Linked DNA regions of Homo sapiens: all the other regions are linked to region 1. Evidence: promoter capture Hi-C in 16 types of primary human blood cells and fetal thymus (Javierre and others, 2016). All regions are on one chromosome and are shown on one strand. Each heading gives the region's core, a stretch centred on a gene start or on the middle of the fragment in contact. The rest is flanking DNA. Distances are from core to core; before and after follow the strand shown.

Evidence for each region. The method cuts DNA at HindIII sites, captures the fragments that hold promoters and counts their contacts. A CHiCAGO score of 5 or more calls a contact.
Region 2: the fragment with the promoter of UBL5 here is called in contact with the fragment with the promoter of ZNF561 in region 1 in 15 of 17 cell types (fetal thymus, naive CD4 T cells, total B cells and 12 more); the score reaches 13.1 in fetal thymus.
Region 3: a fragment that was not itself captured here is called in contact with the fragment with the promoter of ZNF561 in region 1 in 17 of 17 cell types (non-activated CD4 T cells, naive CD4 T cells, activated CD4 T cells and 14 more); the score reaches 19.3 in non-activated CD4 T cells.

The regions. Positions count from the first base shown.
Region 1 is chr19:9,619,770-9,622,820 of GRCh38, reverse strand. ZNF561 (zinc finger protein 561) reads left to right here and starts at 1,589. Exons shown (of 6, transcript NM_152289.3): 1 at 1,589-1,659. ZNF561-AS1 (ZNF561 antisense RNA 1) reads right to left here and starts at 1,339. Exons shown (of 4, transcript NR_122038.1): 1 at 1,176-1,339. RefSeq lists enhancers at 1,260-1,679, 1,828-2,410. The HindIII fragment of the contact is 2,809 bases long and covers 1,237-3,051 here.
Region 2 is chr19:9,826,413-9,829,463 of GRCh38, reverse strand. It overlaps UBL5 (ubiquitin like 5), which reads right to left and starts at 1,546. Exons shown (of 5, transcript NM_001048241.3): 1 at 1,480-1,546; 2 at 1,071-1,137; 3 at 789-872; 4 at 590-627. The coding sequence starts at 1,126. RefSeq lists a silencer at 1,430-1,736 and enhancers at 1,780-1,829, 1,240-1,964. The HindIII fragment of the contact is 5,434 bases long and covers 1-2,090 here.
Region 3 is chr19:9,799,941-9,802,991 of GRCh38, reverse strand. LOC124904635 (a long non-coding RNA gene) reads right to left here. Exons shown (of 3, transcript XR_007067134.1): 3 at 576-1,070. Among named protein-coding and RNA genes, the nearest start is that of FBXL12, 18 kb to the left of the region's middle. The HindIII fragment of the contact is 5,219 bases long and covers 1-3,051 here.

The DNA of each region.
Region 1 (3,051 bases), core at 340-2,839:
TACTTTATATTCTTAGCTCCCACAGTTTAGTCTACATATTTGCCCTGGCATGCTTGTACTGGTCCAGGCAAGCATTAGGGCATAGCCTGTTCTTTTTCCTTATTTGAAGATGTTTTGACCCTTCTCAGCATTCCACAAGTTACTTCCTCCTTCCTTTGTTCTCCTCTACCCTTGCCTCTTTTAAAAAGTTATAAGTTGCTAGCCAGAACGTGAGGTCCCATTCCAGCCAGTGGAAACTGGACACAGCAGTAGGTTGGAAGCATCAGGTTATAAATGACCCTATCTCCTTTGTTTGGTGTACTCTCGTGGCAAAACTGCTGGTGAGTATACCGTTTCTGCAGGAAGTAAAAATGGCCTTGCTGAGTAAATTAAATTTATGTTCAAGTGCTAATTTCTTTATGGCACCAGGGAACAAGCATTTTGAACATGTATATTTATATATTTTTTATATATTTATATATTTATATGTATTTATACATATATGTTTATATATATATATATAGAGAGAGAGAGAGAGAGAGAGACAGGGTCTTGCTACTTTGCCCAGGCTGGTCTCAAACTCTTGGACTTGTAGAAAATGAAATAAATACAGGTTCCTCTTCAAAGGGACTTTCCTCCCAGTCTGATTGAAATAAATAGTAATCCCTCTTAGAAGCCAAATTTTCTCAAAGACCTGTGGTAATATTGTTAAATTCTGCCAGCCGTAATAAAGAAATCAATAGACTCTGTTTTTAGCTCCCACATTTTAGCCTAGATATTTGCCCTGGCATGCCTGAACTGGTCCAAGCAACTATTAGGTCATGGCCTATTCCTTTCCCTATTTAGAAGTGTTTTTGCCTCTCTCAACAGTCCACAAGTTACTTCCTCTCTTCCTTTGTTCTCCTCTGCCATTGCCTCTTTTGGGAAGTTCTAAGTTGCTAGCCAATCCAGTGAAGTACAGGAAGGTGAGGTCCCGTTCCAGCCAATGGAAGCTGGACACAGCAGAAGGATGGACACTTCAAGTTTAAAAAAACCCTGTCTCCTTTGTTAATGTGTGCTCTGGTGGCAAGACTGCCAGCCAGTGGCACCCATTCTGCAGAAAGTAAAACTAGCCTTGCTGAGATCCTTTGTCTCAGTGTTGATTTTGTGACACCAAGCGAGCACCCATTCCCAGCAGACTCAAGCTATTTACCTACCTTAGCCTCCCAAAGTGCAGGAATTACAGGCGTGAGCCACTGCGCTCGCCCGATAAAAGCTTTGGAGGAGCATCCCCCGGGGATGCGTCCCATCCCTCATCCCCGCCCTTCCAGCCCGACCGGCCACCTGAACCACCGGCTAGGCCGGGTCCCTCCTCTAAATCACCCCCCGAGTACGAGCCCCTCCCCTCGCCCACAGTTCCGTCTGGAGGCCCGGTTCTAACCTCACCTTTTTCTCTGGACCTAGTTCTGCATCCCCCTCCCTGAGCCAACCCCAGGCCCTTTCTGCACCCACCCGAGAGGAAACTAGAATTTCTGTGTTCTACCCGGTCCTACGTGGCTGAAACTGGAGCCCACGAGCCTCGCCCGGCCAGAGTGTTGAAGCGGAAGTGACGTCAGCGCACCACCGCCATCTTTTCCGGCGCTGGCTCCTCTCCGTCAGTGCGGTTTCGCCTTTATGGTGGTGGAGTCTGCCCAGGCTGTGGTGAGTTCCACCTCCTTGGCGGTCCCGGGGATAGCAGGGGGCGGCAAAGGAATGATTGCGCGCTGTCGCCTAGGAGCCTCTCAGATCCGCTTCACTTCACTCGCTTCTCCAGGGACTATCAGTCCTCCCTGTGCGTCCAGTTCGGAGAGGCTGCGCGCTCTCTCGGCTCACTGCAACCTCTGCAACCTCTGCCTCCAGGGTCAAGCAGTTCTCCTGCCTCAGCCTTCCGAGTACCTGGGATTACAGGCAAGTGCCACCACGCCCGGCTACTTTTTCTATCTTTAGTAGAGATGGTTTTGCCATGTTGGCCAGGCTGGTCTTGAACTCCTGACCTTAGGTGATCTGTCTGCCTCGGTCCCCCAAAGTGCTGGGATTATAGGTGTGAGCCACTGCACCCGGCCGACTTTTGAAAATTTTAGATTTTGTTCTTAAGTCATCTTAGGTACGTAATGAAGTTATCAATAACACACGTGGCTGGTGACTACTGAATTGTTCTGTGCAGGTCTGCACTGTCTTCTGGTCATATGGCGGGGGGGTAACACCATATACAGGAGATCAGGCTCTAGGGACAAGTATCAGACCGACTACTAGGGTTGTTTGAGTGTAGGTTTTTTTCAGTATTAAATAGAAGTAATGGGCCAGGCATCGTGGCTTATGCTTATTATCCCAGCACTTTGGGAGGCCAAGTCAGGAGGATTGTTTGAGCCCAGGAGTTTGAGACTAGCCTAGGCAATCTGGTGAAAACTTGTCTCTACTAAAACTACAAAAAATTAGCCGGACCCAGTGGTGTGCACCTGTAGTCCCAGCTAGTTGGGGGGCTGAAGTGGGAGAATCACTTAAGGCCAGGAGTTCAAGACCAGCCTGGCCAATATGGCGAAACTGCGTCTCTACTAAAAATGCAAAAATTAGCCAGGCATGGTAGTGCATACCTGAAATCCCAGCTACTCGGGAGGCTGAGGCCTGATAATCGCTTGCACCTGGGAGGCAGAGGTTGCAATGAGTTGAGATCATGCCACTGCATTCCAGCCTGGGCAACAGAGTGAGACTCTGTCTCAAAATAATAATAATAATAATGAGTGATGATACGCACCTATGGTCCCAGCTATTCAGGAGGCTGAAGTGGGAGGATCACTTGAGCCCGGGAAGTCTAGGCTACAGAGAGTTGTGTTAGTGCCATTGGATTTCAACCTGGGCAACAGAGTGAGACCCTGTCTCGATAGATAGATAGATAGATAGATAGGATAGATATAGATAGATAGATATAGATAGATATATAGATAGATAGATATAGATAGATAAATATAGATAGATATAGATAGATAGAGGTAATGATAGCTACTGGGAAGGATGGCTATGATAATTAACTGAGCATGTATATATAAAGCTACTAGA
Region 2 (3,051 bases), core at 297-2,796, 210 kb before region 1:
CACGGCTATAATCCCAGCACTTTGGGAGGCCGAGGCGGGAGGATCACTTGAGGCCAGGAGTTTGAGACTAGCCTGGCATACATGGTGGAACCTCATCTCTACTAAAAATACAAAAACTAGCAGGGAGTGGTGGCACACACCTGTAATCCCAGCTACTTGGGAAGCTGAGGCAGAATTGCTTGAACCCGGGAGGTGGAGGTTGCAGTGGGTCAAGATCGTGCCACTGCACTCCAGCCTGGGCGACAGAGCCAGACTGTCTCAAAAAAATAAATAAATAAAATAAAAATTGTAAAAAGTTTCTGCTCCTTTTGCACAATAGATATGCCTGAGTCTCACCCCACCCTGACCTACTGTCCAGCACTCAGGTGGAGGTCAGTAATAAATATTTTGAACTTGAAGTCAAACTATTTCACCAACCACTCTCCTCCCCAACCAAATAATTACCTAGCTCCCATTTTCTAAGTGCTCACCATGTGCCACGTATTAAGTTAAACACTTAATATGCATAAGCTCATGCAGACTTTAGTTTTGAACAGATAACCGAGGCTGGGTATGTAGATGCTTCCTCAAAAAGTCACACAAAGGATACAGTCCCCCAGAGACACGTGGTCCTTAAAAATCGTGTACCTAAGAAAAAGAGACATTTCAGAGATAAGGCTAAGGAGGCTCTTCAGTCTGTAGGCCAAATGAGGTAGCCAAGCCTAAGCAAAGGGCTGCCTGCAGCGCTCCCCCAACCAAAACCTTCCGGCCTAGTCCAGTCCACCCAGTGGCTCTACCGCTGCACTCACCACTTCTTCAGGACAATCTTGTTCCAACGGGTACCAGTTTGGGCTGCAATCAGCTTCTTAAGGTCCCCGATGGTATCATCCGTGCTGGGCGCAGAGCAGTTAAGGCAAATGGAAGCGGTAGAACGAGGAAGAGGACATTCTAGGGCAGAATACCATCTGCCAGGACCCCATCCGCCCCCTCTCCCGGGTTTAACTAAAACCATCCGACAACACAGATTGAGTTGCCTGCCTCACGCCAAGCACCCCTGCGGGTACCACTGCCTCTCGGCTGCCAGTGGATACTTGCATTTAACGCGGACCTTCTTCCCCAGACGGTCGTTGCAAACAACCTCGATCATCCTAGCTGGAGCTACACAAAGCGGGGGGTGGGTGGGAGGCAGCAAAGTCAGAGCTTCAGGCGTCTCCCAGGCCCAGAAGCCCCAGCCTACAAGTCTCCCAGTCCCAGGCCCTAAAATTCCAGGTTACTGAGCCTTCCGTTCTGCCCCCAACCCCCCGGACTCGAATACTCCCAGGCCCCAAGTCCCCTGTCCCAGGGCCGCGAACCCCGGGGAGCCGCGCCTCCGCCCCTTCTCGCCGCCTGAAAGCCCTGCCACAAAACTCCCTGGCCTCACCTCCCACCGACCCCAGACCCTGGGTGGCTGGGTCGCGACAGCTTTCTCCGACTCCGAGCCTCTCCGCTTGACCCCCTCACCTCGAATCGCCTCGAACCTGCCGACGCCACCAGCTCCTCACCCGAGCGCTGAACCCCGGTCGCAGTTAACGCTAGGAACCGGAAGCGGAAGTTAAAGTTCGAGGCCGGAAGCCCTGCCCCTAGCCAGGGGGTGTGGTCAACACTGGGACAAGTTCTTCCGGGTCTGCAGTCTGTGGTGTGTTTGCTGTTCCCAGGTACGGTTTCGGTGTCCCAAGGCTTGACAGGTGTCGCGCCTGTGGTAGGCGCGCCGGGTAGAGAGGGGGGCCTCGGCGGGTTTGTGGCCAGGGAAGGGGCGTGGAGCGAGAGTCAGAGGTCAGGCGCCGGCGCCCAGCTCGTTTGAAGTCATTGTTTGTTGCAGGGAGACTCGGTCACATGGTGGGGACGCCAGAGGGTCCCGGGAGTAGGGGTAAGCTCCTGATCCTGAGCCCGAAGCCTCTTGCAGCGGCAACTAGGAGCAAGGGCGGAGGGTGGGGGTGGGGGACGAGTTCTGCAGTCATCCCTTCTGACCCCCTGGGTTCATTCAGGGCTGGGCTTGGTGAGCATTTGGCTCACCTCTTCCCTCTGGCCATCGCGTTCCCCCGGGATACGGACTCCAGTCAGTAGGCGAAGCTTGATCCTAGAGTAGACTCTACGCTGCCCAACAGCTGCTGTTACCGCATGGTGCCGGACAGTTCCAGGCTCTTGGTGTCCTGAAGAAAGATTTGGACCAGACACACAGAGATGGCAAAGCTGCAAGTTTATTAAGCACAGTATTCCACTCTCGGAGTGGGGAGAGCGGACTGACCTCTGCGAGATAAGATCAGCCCCAGCTTGGTATAGTTTGGGTCTTTTTTTTTTTTTTTTTCTGAGACGTAGTCTCGCTCTGTTGCACAGGCTGGAGTGCAATGGCGCGGTGCCGGCTCACCGCAACCTCCGCCTTCCGGGTTCAAGCGATTCTCCTGCCTCAGCCTCCCGAGTAAGTAGCTGGGATTACAGGCGCCCGCCACCACGCCCGGCTAATTTTTGTACTTTTAGTAGAGATGGGGTTTCACCTTATTGGCCAGGCTTTTTTTCTCTTCCCAAGGCTGCCTAATATCTAGCCAGTGTCTACCTTTTTGAATGATAGGTGTGTTGCTTACTTTGGCCCCTGTGTGCTTGAGAGCCGCCTCCATTCATGATATGCCGTCCATATGCATGAGCGCTAATGAGCTGGTTATCCTTATCATGTTAAGGATACTTTTTGTCTTTAATGCGCGTGCTTATGCCTAAAGAGCTGCTCCTTACTGGTTTGGTCCTGATTTCCCCGGCCGTGGGATTTTTACTGTTTTTTTTTTAATTTTATTTATTTATTTATTTATTTATTTATGGAGTCTCGCTCTGTCGCCCAGGCTGGAGTGCAGTGGCGTGATCTGGGCTCACGGCAAGCTCCGCCTCCCGGGTTCACGCCGTTGTCCTGCCTCAGCCGCCTCCCGAGTAACAGGGACTACAGGCGCCCCCCACCACCCTCGGCTAATTTTTTTGTATTTTTAGTAGAGACGGGGTTTCACTGTGTTAGCCAGGATGGTCTCGATCTCCTGACCTCGTGATCCGCCT
Region 3 (3,051 bases), core at 380-2,879, 180 kb before region 1:
AGGTTGCAGTGAGCGGAGATGGCACCACTGCACTCCAGCCTGGGTGACAGAGCGAGACACCGTCTCAAAAAAAAAAAAAAAAAAAAAGGAAAAGAAATACATTCATTTGTTCCAGAATGGCAGGACAGCTCAAACCGGGAGCTGGGGTGGGGTGGGAGTGGGGATTCCAGCTTATAGGGAGATTAAAACTTTTTTTCTTTTTTTGAGAGGAGGCTTGAGGTTGTGGAGACCCAAGTTCTTTTTTTTTTTTTTCTTTTTTCTTTTTTGAGATGGAGTCTCGCTCTTGTTGCCCAGCCTGGAGTGCAATGGCACCATCTCGGCTCACTGCAACCTCCACCTCCCGGGTTCAAGCGATTCTCCTGGCTCAGCCACCAGAATAGCTGGGATTACAGGCGCCCGCCACCATGCCCGGCTAATTTTTTTTTTTTTTTTTTTCGGAGACGCAGTCTCGCTCTGTCGCCCAGGCTGGAGTGCAGTGGCACGACCTCAGCTCACTGTAACCTGCGCCTACCGGGTTCCAGCAATTCTCCTGCCGCAGCCTCCTGAGTAGCTAGGATTACAGGTGTGTGCCACCACGACCGGCTAATTTTTGTATTTCTAGTAGAGACGGGGTTTCGTCATGTTGGCCAGGCGGGAGACCCAAGTTCTTATTTCCAGAGGAAGCCTCCAGGTACTAGACTTCAGAGAGAATAGGTTGTAAAATGTTTATCCGACAGACCTGGGGGCGTGGCTTCCAATGAAGACCAGCCCCAGAAGGCCGGGCTGGGAGACTGCGAAGTCGGAGGGGTTGAGGGGACTTCAGGCAGAGTGGGTGGAGCAAAGGAGAGGGCTCAGGCTTGGGGGCGGGACTTGGGTGGGTCCTCCATTCTGGTTGGCCAAGCCTCTATGTCCCAAATAAAAGTCTCTACCTTCCCGAGAACTTATTACAATAGAACACCAGATTTCCAGAGGTATCTGCCAGTCCACAGAGTGAATCACGTTTCCATTCATCCCGTTTCTTCTATAGGCCCTTGAAGAGAGTTTTAACATTTTCTTCTTAAATCGGTTGTATCTTTCGGTGAGGTTAACTCCTAGAGATTACATATAAATACATTTAGGTTTTTTGCTCTTTTTTCCAACCGATGGTTATTGAGGAGTTCTGAGAGATGAGAAATGTGCTGATTTAAATCACAAATGTAGGCCAGACGCAGTCGCTCACACCTGTAATCCTGGCACTTTGGGAGGTTGAGGCAGGGTCCTTTGAGCCCAGGAGTTCTAGACCAGCCTGGGCAACATGGGGAGACCCTGTCTCTATGAAACATTAAAATTAAAATTAAAAAAAGAAAAATAAATAGCCCGGGCGCGATGGCTCAAGCCTGTAATCCCAGCACTTTGGGAGGCCGAGGCGGGTGGATCACCTGAGGTCAGGAGCTCGAGACCAGCCTGAACAATATTGTGAAACCCGCTTATACTAAAAATACAAAAAATTAGTTGGGCGTGGTGGCGGGCGCCTGTAATCCCAACTACTTGGGAGGCTGAGGCACCAGAATAGCTTGAATCCGGGAGGCGGAGGTTGCAGTGAGCCGAGATGGTGCCATTGCACTCCAGCCTGGGCGACAAGAGCAAAACTCTGTCTCAAACGAAACAAAACAAACCAAAAACCCAATAAAATACAAAAATTAGCTGCGCGTGGTGGTGCACACCTGTAATCCCAGCTACTCGGGAGGCTGAGGCAGGAGAATCGCTTCAACCTGGGAGGCGGAGGTTGCAGTGAGCCGAGATGGCGCCACTGCACTCCAGCCTGGGTGACAGACTGAGACTCCTTCTCTATATAAAAAAAAAAAGAAATAGAAAAAAGAAAAATGAATAGGCCGGGCACGGTGGCTCACGCCTGTAATCCCAGCACTTTGGGAGGCCGAGGCGGACGGATCACTTGATGTCAAGGGTTCGAGACCAGCCTGGCTAACACGGTGAAACCTCGTTTCTACTAAAAATACAAAAAGTTATCCGGGCATAGTGGTGCGTGCTTGTAATCCCAGCTAGTCGGGAGGCTGTGGCAGGAGAATTGCTTGAACTCGGAAGGCGGAGTTTGCAGTGAATCAAGATCACACCACTGCACTCCAGCCTGGGTAACAGAGGGAGACTCCGTCTCTTAAAAAAAAAAAAAGGAAAATAAATAAATAAAGTAGATCACAGATATAAAATAGTGTCCAGATGAAACAATAGATGCCCAACATCCTGGAATGGGACATCAATTAAAATAATAAAAATAGAAAAGAACAAGAGATGCCCAGCAAATAGTTATTTTCACTTTCCCCCTAACGAAGGGTGAAGAGGTCTACAAATGTTCGCTGTTTCTCTTAATTCCTGTGTTTTGAGAATTAAGGATTTATAAGGCAAACCAAGTGATGCGCTGTTGTCTTCTGGAGACCTATGGTATTACATTTCATCTCAAGCAGGTGCTTTTTGAAACTTACCTTTAAACCTTCCTTCCCTATTGGAAAGTTATCACTTGAAAAAGCATTTTCATCATACCTGTAATCCCAGCACTTTGGGAGGCTGAGGTGGACGGATAACCTGAAGTCAGGAGTTCCAGACCAGCCTGGCAAACATGGTCAAACCTCGTCTCTACTAAAAGTACGAAAATTGGCTGGGCACAGTGGCTCACACCTATAATCCTAGCACTTTGGGAGGCTGAGGCAGGTGGATCACCTGAGGTCAGGAGTTCAAGACCAGCCTGGTCAACATGATAAAACCCCATCTTGGCCGGGTGCAGTGACTCACGCCTGTAATCCCAGCACTTTGGGAGGCCAAGGTGCTCGGATCACGAGGTCAGGAGATTGAGACCATCCTGGCTAACACAGTGAAATCCCGTCTGTACTAAAAATACAAAAAAATTACCTGGGCGTGGTGGCGGGCGCCTGTAGTCCCAGCTACTCAGGAAGCTGAGGCAGGAGAGTGGTGTGAACCTGGGAGGCGGAGCTTGCAGTGAGCCGAGATCGCGCCACTGCACTCCAGCCTGGGCGACAAAGTGAAACTCCATCTCAAAAAAAAAAAAAAAAAAAAAAAAAA